2 separate regions of the Homo sapiens genome follow, and region 1 is linked to region 2. The links are contacts of gene promoters, found by promoter capture Hi-C in human tissues and cell types (Jung and others, 2019). All regions are on one chromosome and are shown on one strand. Each heading gives the region's core, a stretch centred on a gene start or on the middle of the fragment in contact. The rest is flanking DNA. Distances are from core to core; before and after follow the strand shown. Region 1 holds the start of PRR13 (proline rich 13). Region 2 overlaps SPRYD3 (SPRY domain containing 3).

Evidence for each region. Contacts are between HindIII fragments. The study calls those that stand out against the background at their distance.
Region 1: the fragment with the promoter of PRR13 here is called in contact with a fragment that was not itself captured in region 2 in 1 of the 25 tissues and cell types used here (dorsolateral prefrontal cortex).

What each region holds. Positions count from the first base shown.
Region 1 is chr12:53,437,345-53,443,256 of GRCh38, forward strand. It overlaps PRR13 (proline rich 13), which reads left to right and starts at 4,390. Exons shown (of 4, transcript NM_018457.4): 1 at 4,390-4,448; 2 at 5,351-5,389. The coding sequence starts at 5,371. RefSeq lists enhancers at 3,362-4,127, 3,858-3,947 and a silencer at 4,238-4,387. The HindIII fragment of the contact is 13,829 bases long and covers 1-5,912 here.
Region 2 is chr12:53,067,290-53,073,854 of GRCh38, forward strand. It overlaps SPRYD3 (SPRY domain containing 3), which reads right to left. Exons shown (of 11, transcript NM_032840.3): 6 at 5,997-6,182; 7 at 866-1,015; 8 at 359-416. Among named protein-coding and RNA genes, the nearest start is that of SPRYD3, 8.8 kb to the right of the region's middle. RefSeq lists enhancers at 4,593-5,093, 4,976-5,270, 5,094-5,594. The HindIII fragment of the contact is 7,372 bases long and covers 1,329-6,565 here.

The DNA.
Region 1 (5,912 bases), core at 3,140-5,639, 370 kb after region 2:
AATTATTTCAGAATAAAAGAACACTGTCTAGGCAATACCACTCAGGACATAGGCATGGGCAAAGATTTCATGATGGGATCACCAAAAGCAATCGCAATAAAAGCAAAAATTGACAAATGTGATCTAATTAAACTAAAGAGCTTCTGCACAGCAAAAGAAACTATCATCAGAACAAACAGGCAACCTACAGAATGGGAGAAAATTTTTGTGATCTGCCAAAGTGTCTAATATCCAGAATCTAGAAGAAACTCAAACAAATTTACGAGAAAAAAACAACCCCATTAAAAAGTGGGCAACGGCCAGCCTCCCCGTCCGGGAGGGAGGTGGGGGGCGGCCCCCGCCCGGCCAGCCGCCCCGTCCGGGAGGTGGGGGGTGCCTCTGCCCGGCCGCCCCTTCTGGGAAGTGAGGAGCCCCTCTGCCCTGCCGCCACCCCGTCCGGGAGGTGTACCCAACAGCTGATTGAGAACGGGCCATGATGACGATGGCGGTTTTGTCGAATAGAAAAGGGGGAAATGTGGGGAAAAGATACAGAAATCAGATTGTTGCTGTGTCTGTGTAGAAAGAAGTAGACATAGGAGACTCCATTTTGTTCTGTACTAAGAAAAATTCTTCTGCCTTGGGATGCTGTTGATCTATGACCTTACCCCCAACCCGGTGCTCTCTGAATCATGTGCTGTGTCCACTCAGGGTTAAATGGATTAAGGGCGGTGCAAGATGTGTTTTGTTAAACAGATGCTTGAAGGCAGCATGCTCGTTAAGAGTCATCACCACTCCCTAATCTCAAGTACCCAGGGACACAAACACTGGGGAAGGCCGCAGGGTCCTCTGCCTAGGAAAACCAGAGACCTTTGTTCACTTGTTTATCTGCTGACCTTCCCTCCACTATTGTCCTATGACCCTGCCAAATCCCCCTCTGCGAGAAACACCCAAGAATGATCAATTAAAAAAAAAAAAAAAAAAGAGATAGGAAAAAAAAAAAAAAAGTGGGCAAAAGGCCAGGTGCGGTGGCTCACGCCTATAATCCCAGCACTTTGGGGGGCCGAGGCGGGCGGATCACGAGGTCAGGAGATCAAGATCATCCTGGCTAAGAGGGTGAAACCCCGTCTCTACTAAAAATATAAAAAATTAGCCAGGCACGGTGGCGGGTGCCTGTAGTCCCAGCTACTCGGGAGGCTGAGGCAGGAGAATGGTGCGAACCTGGGAGGCGGAGCTTGCAGTGAGCCAAGATCGTGCCACTGCACTCCAGCCTGGACAACGGGGCCAGGGCGAGACTCCGTCTCAAAAAAAAAAGGGGGGGGCAAAGGACATTAACAGACATTTCTCAAAAGAAGATATGCAGCCGGCCGGGCGCGGTGGCTCACGCCTGTAATCCCAGCACTTTGGGAGGCCGAGGCGGGCGGATCACGAGGTCAGGAGATCGAGACCATCCCGGCTAAAACGGTGAAACCCCGTCTCTACTAAAAAATACAAAAAATTAGCCGGGCGTAGTGGCGGGCGCCTGTAGTCCCAGCTACTTGGGAGGCTGAGGCAGGAGAATGGCGTGAACCCGGGAGGCGGAGCTTGCAGTGAGCCGAGATCCCGCCACTGCACTCCAGCCCGGGCGACAGAGAGAGACTCCGTCTCAAAAAAAAAAAAAAAAAAAAAAAAAAAGAAGATATGCAGCCAACAAACATGAAAAAAAGCTCAACATCACTGAACATTAGAGAAATGTAAATCAAAACCATAATGAGATACTATCTCATGCCAGTCAGAATGGTGATTATTAAAAAGTCAAGAAATAACAGGCCAGGCCTGGTGGCTCATGCCTGTAACCCTAGCACTTTGGGAGGCCAAGGGTGAGTGAATCACTTGAGGTCAGGAGTTTGAAACCACCCTGGCCAGCATGGTGAAACCCTGTTTCTACTAAAAATACAAATATATATATGTATATATATATGGCAGGTGTGGCGGCAGGCACCTGTAATTCTAGCTACTCGGGAGGCTGAGGCAGGAGAATCGCTTGAACCCGGGAGGCAGAGGTTGCAGTGAGCTGAGATCCTGCCACTGCACTTCAGCCTGGGCGACAGAGCAAGACTCAGTCTCAAAAAAAAAAAAAAACCCAAAACCAAAATCCAGATGCTGGCAAGGTTGTGGAGAAATAGGAACATTTTTACACTGTTGGTGGGAGTGTAAATTAGTTCAACCATTGTGGAAGACGATGTGGCGATTCCTCAAAGATCTAGAACCAGAAATACCATTTGACCCAGCAATCTCATTACTGGGTGTATACCCAAAGGAATATAAATCATTCTATTACAAACATACATGCATGTGTATGTTCACTGTAGCACTATTCACAATAGCAAAGACATGGAATTAATCCAAATGCCCATCAACAATAGACTGAAAAACTGTGGTACATATATACCATGGAATACTATGTAGCCATAAAAAGGAATGAGATCATGTCCTTTATAGGGACATGGATGAAGCTGGAAGCCATTAACCTCAGCAAACTCATGCAGGAACATGTTCTCACTCAAGTGGGAGCTACACAGTAAGAACACATGGACACAAGGAGGGGAACAACACACACTGGGGCCTGTTGGGGGGTAGGGTCAGGGGAGTGAGAATATTAGGAAAAATAGCTAATGCATGCTGGGCTTAATACCTAGCTGATGGGTTTATTGGTGCAGCAAAATTTGTGCAGCAAACCAGCATGGCACACATTTAACTATGTAACAAACCTGCACATCATGCACATGTACCCCAGCACTAAAAATAAAAATTAAAAGAAAAAAAGTTTAAAATATTTCAAATGCTTTAGTTTAATATGACATATTTGGCATAAAATTTATTGTCTTAAATTTTTTTGTATCCCACTTTTTTTTTTTTTTTTTTTTGAAACAGAGTCCTGCTCTGTTGCTTAGTCTGGAGTGCAGTGGCATGATCTTGGCTCACTGCACCCTCTCCCTCCCAGGTTCAAGCGATTCTCATGCCTCAGCCTTCCCACTAGCTGGGATTACAGGTATGTGCCACCATGCCTAGCTCACTTTCTTTCTTTCTTTCTTTCTTTTTTTTTTTGAGATGGAGTCTCGCTCTGTTGCCCAGGCTGGAGTGCTATGGCGTGATCTCGGTTCACTGCAACCTCCCGGGTTCAAGCGATTCTCCTGCCTCAGCCTCTCAAGTGGCTGGGATTACAGGCACATGTCACCACGCCCGGCTAATTTTTGTATTTTTAGTAGAAACGGGGTTTTACCATATTGGCCAGGCTGGTCTCGAACTCCTGACCTTGTGATCCGCCTGCCTCGGCCTCCCAAAGTGCTGGGATTACAGGCGTGAGCCACTGCGCCCGGCCACTTGTATTTTTTTTTTTTTTTTAAAGGCTGGGTACGGTGGCTCACGCCTATAATCCCAGCACTTTGGGAGGCCGAGGCGGGCAGATCACGAAGTCAAGAGAGCGAGACCATCCTGGCCAACATGGTGAAATCCCATCTCTACTAAAAAATAGAAAAATTAGCCGCGTCTGTAGTCCCAGCTACTTCGGAGGCTGAGGCAGGATTATCGCTTGAACCCGGGAAGCGGAGGTTGCAGTGAGCCGAGGTCGCACCACTGCACTCCAGCCTCGTGACAGAGCGAGACTCCGTCTCAAAAAAAAAAAAAAAAAAAAAAAGGGAGGCCATTGTAGGGAGGCCATTGTAGCAATTCAGGGGAGAGATGAATCCAGGCGACAGATGATGGGAGGTTTGGAGCAGGGAAGACAGAGAGAAGTGGAGAGATTCCAGATATATTTGAGAGACAAAACTGATAATTTGGGGTAAGGGAGGTGAAGGAGGCAGAGGGATCACGGACGCCCTCCTTGGTTTCTGGTTTAGGCTACTTGACAGATGGCGGAGCTATGCAATTGAGAGAGGGAATCCTGGGAGAGATTATGAAATCTCTGTATCTTCCGCAAGAATGTTTGTTTGCTTCCCTTGCGAGTGTAAGACGGAGCCGGGAACATTGAGGCTTGGGGCTGGGACTCAGCAGCTCTTCTGCCCTTGCCGAGAACTCTGTCTATATCTGTATTACAACACTTACCATAGTGTATTCATTTTACAAGGTATTGCACCCAGTGAACCATGAGGTAAGAGAGCAAGGGAAGAGTTTCTTCTCGGTGTCTCTAGGACTTTGCCCAGCAGCTGGCCCCGCCCCCTCCAGCGCTCTCCGCCTAGCCCCGCCCCCAGGAGATTTCCGGCTTCTCGGTACTGGCCTAGCCGTAAAGGGCTCCGCTCCGCCCCTAGAGCAACCGTTTCCTCCTCAGTCGGACCAGAGTGATTGATTAGTTTGTTGTCTAATCATCAGTCGAGCGGCCACATAATTACCAATTAGGCAGTAGCAGAGGCGGGTGCCGAAGCACGGGGTCTGGGTGACTAGGAAGAGCCGAGACTGCGAAGGAGAACGCAGCAAGCCCAGGCGGCGGTGGAAAGGTGATGGGGTATCTGGATTCCATAGGTTTTTCCTTTTCCCCTTGCTAGGTCAAGAGTCTCTTCGCAGCTTGGGGCTAGGATCTTCATTTGCCTTTTTTCTTTTTTGGAGGAAGGGGGCTGTGTCCACATATTTAAGTATTTGAGGTTCTTGGGCAACTTCCTTCTTACTTCGCCTCGAGGCGTATCCTTTTTTTAGCCTGAGGTGGGGTCCTCCCCAGGGAGAGAGAAAGTTGTTTGAGATCCTTTCTTACTCTGTGCGTGGTTAAAGGCCTCCGTACTCAGTTCCAGGGAAAGGGAGATGAGTGATGGTGGGGCCGAGACTCGCGGGTACTGCCTACTTCCGAAGAGTTAGACGCTTCCACCTGGGTGGAGGGGCCCTGGGAACTAGATTCCTGTGTTAGGAACCAAGTAGGTATTGAGGGCGAAGAAACAAGTGGAAAGAGACATTTCTTTTCTTTTCTTTTCTTTTTGAGACGGTGTCTTGCTCCGTCGCCCAGGCTAGAGTGCAGTGGCGCGGTCTCGGCTCACTGCAACCTCTGCCTCCCGGGTTCAAGCAATTTTCCTGACTCAGCCTCCCGAATAACTGGGATTACAGGTGCCCGCCACCGCGCCCGGCTAATTTTTAGATTTTTAGTAGAGACGGGGTTTCACGATGTTGGCCAGGCTGGTCTCGAACTCTTGACCTCGTGATCCACCCGCCTCGGCCTCCCAAAGTGCTGGGATTACAGGCGTGAGCCACCGCGCCCAGCCAGAAAAGAGACATTTCTTATGTGGAAGTTGTGGTAGTTCTCCAGGTAGGAGAGCCTACTGTGGGGTGGAAGACGTTAGGGCTGGGCTCCGGTGCTAAGTCCACTTCCTACCTCTAGACCGTCATCTTTTTTGCCTCATTTCTTTCTCCTCAGGCTGGAGGACACACCTAAACATGTGGAATCCCAATGCCGGTAGGTGTTTGGGGGTTCTGTTCCACCCCTAACCCTTTTTCTGATGGGCTCTATAACAGGAAGTTTCTGTATCAGCTCCCCTACCCCCGACCTGCTGTACCCGCAAAAGCAAAGTCCTTAGTCTAGAGCTGACCAGTGCTTTTTAATTTAATTTAATTTATTTATTTTTTGAGATGGAGTCTCTGTTGCCCAGGCTCACTGCAACCTCCGCCTCCTGGGTTCAAGCGATTCTCCTGTTTCAGCCTCTGGAGTAGCTGAGATTACAGACGCATGCTATCACGCCCGGCTACTTTTTGTATTTTTAGTAGAGATGGGGGTTTCACAATTTGGCCAGGCTGGTCTCAAACTCATGGCCTCATGAGATCTGTCCACCTCGGCCTCCCAAAGTGCTGGGATTACAGGCGTGAGCCACCGCGCCTGGACTGACCAGTGCTTTTGTCTTCCTCAGAGTTCACTGTCTCCCTCCTCTCCCTAGCCCTTCCAGGGACATTCCCCCTTTTCTCCCCAACTCAAGTTTGTCTCC
Region 2 (6,565 bases), core at 3,765-6,264:
GGTCGAGGAACTCTAGGCTCAGTTTTCTTCTAAAGAAAGCCAAGGAAACCAAGCAGCAAAAGAAAAAAGAAAATGAGGAAATGAGGGTCTGCAGGAAGGGCACGGGGGGACCAGCTCAGAGGCCTGGAATGTCCCATCTGGGCCCAGATCTCCCTCTCCTGTCCTGCTCCCCTGGTTTCCAGAGCTGGGAGGAAAACACAGATGAGGAGGAAGCACTAGCGATTTGGGAAGGGGAGGTCAGCCAGCAGCAGGGCAAACAGCAAGGCCATTTGTGAGGGGCCAGGAGAGGGGAAAGTGGATGTCCCTATGCCTCCACATCTCCCACCATCCCACCTTTCCCAGGCAGCCCGCTATTCACCTGCATGATAAGCCACAGACCCTCTGCTCCAGCCAGGGTGCCTGTTCTTGGGATAGTCCTGCACCAAGAAGAGAAAAGAAAATCTATGGTCCCATGCATAAACAAGACAGGAGAGAGTGGCGAGTAGCATCTGAACCTCTGGGACAGACCACAGCCCAGAGAGTGCCAACCCTGCACACTCATACCCTGCAGGCACTGGGGCTTCAGGGGAACCAGGGAGGGTGAGGAAAGTGTTAGTTAAGCTTTTAAGGCCAGAGCCATGGCATGTCCCACCCCCTCCCCCCAGGCCTTAGTGTGTGGTGCAGTCATGACCTGTCTCAGGTCCTTGGTCACATGGGGTGTGTACTCTTACACAGCAGACACATACAACTGTGTTCCATCTCAGCTTAGCACCCTCCCTCCAAAGCCTGGGCTCCCCTGGTTTCTCCTAAGAGCTTCCTGGTGCTGCCCCAACAGCCCCAGACCTGAGCAGCTCCATGAGCAAAAAAGCTCAGCCTTTGTGCCCACCTTCCGTGCCAGCCCCAGGGCGATGTAGCATTTCTCTCCAGGGTCCACGATCTCCACCTCGAAGTAGTGGCTGCGGGTGCTGAGTGGGTGCCGGGCCTGGGCCAGCCCCACATCCACGATGCTTTTGCCCTTCCCTAAGTACTCCAGCAGCTGTGGGGGAAGAGCCAGATGGGGGTCAGGGGACAGGCTGACACCCACCCTGGAAACCTGGGCCCAAGGCAGTCTGGGTCCCACTTTCCCAGGTCTGACAAAAACTCCTGGCTGAAAGGGAAAGAATCCTAGAGATACAATGTGGCCCCAAAGTTCTAGGCCAGCATGGAAGAGCAGGATGGGGTGGGAGGCAAAGGGGAGAGCACCCCTTGCTGAATGCCCACGCTGTCTTCCCCCACACACTTTCTGGGAGGCCGGGGAAAGCAGCACAGCTAGGGGAGCGGCACACCAGGGGGCTCTAGATGCATCCTCGCCCGCTGAAAAACCCTGCAGCCTTTCCTGCTGGGAAAGGTCCGCCCAGGGTCCCAAACACAGGGGAAAGGAGAAGCAAGACTAGCTGAGAGGAAACTTGATGACTTTCTCAGGGGGCCTAATGGGGACAGGGAGGATGCAGAAGTTAGGTGCCAACCCCAGATATTCAGGGGAAGCGGGTGAGTTCAGAAGCCAATTCTGCCTGGGATGGGCCTGACATAATTTCTCAAGGTCCTTGTTTTACTTGGCTGTGAACACAGCTGTTCTTAGCTGGGTCAGGGAGGTGCTGAGGGGAGCCCAGGGACCCAGAACGCCCAGCTCTACTCCCTCATTTCATGTGAGGGAGAGGAGAGGTCAAAATGAAGACAGAGGCAGGCTTAGCTGTTCCCAGCCCCTCATTGCTCATTCAAGTTGGAGTAGGGGCGTGGAGGTAGGATAGGGGAGATGACTGATGGGTTCTTGGGGCTCTTCAGTCCCACAATGGTCCTGCCTGGGCACGACGGGGCGGCAACCCCCAATCTGGGAGGATTTATTTGTCAGTTGTCATGGTAATAGTGGGGTGATGACTCAACCCCATCCCCTCTTTCCCCCACCTTCGGCCTCACCTGGGATTCCTTAATCTCCTTTTAATTAGCCCAACTGCCCCTCACGACTTTCTTCTACCCTCCCACCCCTGCAGCCCTGAAGGAAACATGTTGCCTAGGGACCTCCTCCACGTCTCCCTGGCAAGCTTTGGGACGCCGGCCTCTCACCTCTCACAGATTCCTGCCTGAACAGGAAAGGAATTATGCCCACCTGCACCAGCACAGAAGCCTGTGCGTGTCTCCAGCAGAGGCTGCTCCCGCATCCCCACTCCCAGCCTCAGACGGCCGCTGCTTAGCTCAGGTGCTTAGAGCGGGGTGCTACTAACCCCTTCTGAGAGTAGGACTAGAGGGGCTTGGTGCCTTTCTCAGCCCTGGATCTCAGCCCCGCCACCTCAAGTCCATCCTTCCCTCCTCTCCAAAGATAACTGGGGATGGATGAGGGGGAAAGCAGCATGCACGGGAGACCACCTAAGCCCATCCCCAAGGCCACACTGTTTGACTTCTGTTCATGGTGTATTCTCTGCTCAGCCTGGGTTCCTCCTCTGCCTCTCTCCCCGGGAAGCCAGGAGGGGTGTGGCTTGATCCACATTAACTAGTTTAGACTCCACCCAGGCAGAGCAGCCCCCAGCCCACCCTCTCCACCCAGCATTGCAGAACTGGGTGGGGGACCCCACAGCTGCCTTTGACCCATTCTATCCAACTGGCCTCGGTGTAGGAAACACAGTGTTCTCCATTTCCAGAGCCAAAAGACAGCCGATCCAGACCCTGATCCTTGGGAAATACCCGGCCAGCCCCTCCCTTTGCCTCAGCTCAGAAGAGGGTAGCTGCTGCATTTCTGTCTCTGGATAGGGTGGAGGTGCTTTCTCACGCTAAAAGCCAGGACGGACTACCCCAACATGGGTCTTTAAAACCCACTCTCTACCTGCCAACCACAGAGCACTTCGGACAGAATGCTGATGTCCTGGACGACTAGGTACTTGTACAGTGTATAGGTGAGGCTTGTACAGCGTGCCCTCTTCAGAGGGGACCGCCCAGCCCTCACAGTGAAAGCCATCATAAACCTCCTGATCCACTCTCCTGCTCCTGGACAAAGCTCCCCCGACCCCTCCTGAGCCTTCCCAGAGAACTCAGAGGGGTGGAAGTGGGGGGAATATTTGGCCTCCCTGACAGATTCTTTCTTGAGTACATTCCTCTGCCTCCTTGGTCTATAGCTGTTAGGAACCTAGAGGAGGAGTGAAGGTTAACCCTTAGAGTCTGAACTGTTAGGATCTTGATGCTGGTCCCTCAACCTGTACCTCAGAATCCAACAGACCTGGGTTCAAATCCTAACTCCTATTACTTAACAGCCGCTAACCTCAGGCAAATGACATTCACCTCCTTAAGCCTTGGTTTCTTCAACAGTAAACTGGGATAAGATTACCTGAATTTCCAAAAACAAGTGGGAAGACTTAATGAAGTGACCAATACACATTGCTGCCTCTCCCTAAATCAGTGTAAATGGGGTTACGTTGGAATTGCCGATCACAAAGAAGGAAATGATCTTTCATCTTAGCCCTTACTTCCAACTACAATGGTCCCTTAGGCCAACCAGGACGATGGCCACTCCCCAGACAACTCTACCCTATGTGTCTCCTCTCAAACAATGTCCAATCAACAGAAATGTTTCTCTGCATTTTTGGTGGGGGAAGATGGAGCCCTTTCTTTGGGTCTCCCCCTAATACACACATACCACCAAAGCCCCAAGAAGCCAAAGACATGACTCAGTGCCACAGAGTGGCGGCTGCAGACCAGAGTGTGGACAGTCTCGTGCACTCCACACCCTCCCTCTACCAGTAGCACCTTCCCAGCCTCTTCTCCCCTGCCGGTATCCGCCCTCCTCCCCTTGCCAGCAGAGACCCTAATCCCTCTTGACAGGAGCAAGGAAGGGCTCAGTGCCCTGAGGGCCCAGAAGCAACTGAAACAGGAACCAAGTACACACTCTCCTGGCCAGCTCAGGCTCCAGCACAGCCTCCCTCTGGGCTGGGTCTGGGGAGGACCCCTGGGAGGGCGGGGCCTCATTCACCACCCTGTGTGTACCAAAGCTGTTGCCCCTGTCACTAAGGAGTTGTCAGAGGAGCTGTGAACAGGGCACAAACACAGAATGAGTCTAATCCCCCAGCTGTTACCTACCGCCCCCAGCTCCCCTCCACCACATTACCTCACTTTGCGAGGCCTGGAGGCAGGGATGAGGTGAGAGGCAAGTGCCCCAGCAATTCCTCAACCCCTCAGAGCTCTGAGGAGGTAGACTCTTTAGGAGGGGGAAACAGGCCACAGGAGGCAGGGGAAGAATTCCACTCAAGAAAGAGCCAGGTCTGTCTATATCCAAAGACTCAAATCTAACAACTGTTGAGGCCCAGGGCAGTGGCTCATGCCTCTAATCCCAGCAATTTGGGAGGCCAAGGTGGGAGGATCCCTTGAGCCTGGGAGTTGGAGGCTGAAGTGAACCAGCACTCCAGTCTGGGTGACAGAGTGATAGCCTGTCTTAAAAAAAAAAAAAAAAAAAAAAGGAAAGTTGGCATGACTGGAAAAAGGCACATGTCCCTCAGGAAGCTCACATCCAAGTTGGCCCCAGAGGAACGGGTGCCCCAGGAGTAGTGCTCCCACCCTGCCACCTGGCCCAAGCTGGGGTGAGGGTCTGAGAGAAGGGCCCAATTCAACAGCTTATGTCTAAAAAAGAAAAACACTCTTAAATAAGTGGCTGAAGGTGTTGGGGGGAGGGTGGGGAGGAAGGAAGGCTATTTATAAATGTCTACAGGATTCTGCATCAATTAGAAAAGATTGCCTGGGAGGAGCTGAGAGCAGAGTGGGGACAGGTCCAGGCAGAGAAAGGATGCCAGGAAAAAACTCTTGAGGAGAGGTCAGAGATGAGAGCTGGAACATCGCCCTGGCGCAGCCCCAAGTTTAACTCTGTAGATGTTGTCAGAATGATGGTAGATTGAGGGGAAAAAGGAAAGACATGAGAGTCACGGAGTGGGCATCTGAGGCCTCTTAGCTCTCGGTCGCTGCAGCCTGGGACCCTGATGCCAGACGGGGGTGCAGAGTGTCAGAAGCAGCAGGAGGGCACACTTCCTGTCATTTTCCCTGAGTTCCACTCCACCAGGGGGAGGCCTGGCTCCTAATCCGCTCCCACCCCCCACTGCTTCTGTTTTGTTATCAAAGACTGAGTTGAAAACAGCCTGGGTTGGGGTGGAAAGGCCAGAGGGTGGAGAAAAAGGCCAGGCCAGGAGCAAGGGGGTAGGAGAGGGACAATTCGAAGTGGGAGGGCTGAGCAGCCCACTAGAGGTCAGGGCCAGATCCCGGACTTGGCGTCCATTCACTCCCAATGCAGCACAGTGTATTGAGGCAGACAGGAAGAATTTTCCTTTCTCAAGGTTCATGAATTTTCCAACAAAACTTAAAATCCGGGGAGGAAGAATTCCCCTTTCTCAAGCTCCACACGCTTCCCAACGAAGCTTAAAATCCATACTAAAGCAGGTATGAGGAAAAGATAAATGAAGCAAGTTTGGAGGTGTAAGGATGCTCACTGAATCTTTATCTGCCTCCATTCTAATCCTCTATCAAATGCAGGGATAAGACAATAGAAACTGACATTGACACTTCCTCAAAAAAGATGGCTAAGAACCTTCCACCACATGTGTGGACTTCTGACCACACCTGCCCCACAACACTTTGAATGAAAAGCCTGGGCCAGGCATTTTGCCTCCAGATCAACCCCCAGCCCCTCAAAGGCAGTTGTGCAGGGCTGTAGAAGACACCAGAAGCTGAAGGAACCAAAAAAGGCAAAGCAGAACTACTTGTTCCCAGGGTCAAACTGCGAACCTGAGTTCCCTGAAGAGGAGGAAGTGAAGAAAAGAGAACATGTGCTAAAGAAAACACAGATCTGGACTCAAGGACTCATGTCAAGAGCCTAGGCTATCTTGCCAAACCCCACACGGACACTGTCCCGACTCCCCATTCCCAGCAATTCAGACATGACCATGTGCCCACAGGTGTTCTGCCCAGCCTCCTCCGACCCAGCCCCTCCCACCCTCCCACCCGCTACTTACAGTCCCACAGACTCTGACATCATGTAGCCGGCCCCATTCATCCTCGTAACTGTCCACCATCATGACGCTGTCGTCCTCACGGCCCAGCTCAGCGTTGAGGTGCAGCCGCACCTCCTCACCCAGGGAGTGCATGCCCACTGCTGGGAACAGTCCATCTGGGGACATGGGCATGATGGTAGAGCCCACCTGCAGTGGGGGGAAAGACGGAGCTGCCACCCGGCCTGCTTTTCCATAGCTCACCTAATTCTCACAAGGGTACTTTTAAGATGATGCAACCAGCCGGGCGTGGTGGCTCACGCCTGTAATCCCAGCACTTTGGGAGGCCGAGGTGGGCGGATCACAAGGTCAGGAGATTGAAACCATCCTGGCTAACACGGTGAAACCCCGTCTCTACTAAAAATACAAAAAATTAGCCGGGCGTGGTGGCGGGCGCCTGTAGTCCCAGCTACTCGGGAGGCTGAGGCAGGAGAATGGCGTGAACCCGGGAGGCGGAGCTTGCAGTGAGCCGAGATGGTGCCACTGCACTCCAGCCTGGGGGACAGAGCGAGACTCCATTTCAAAAAAAAAAA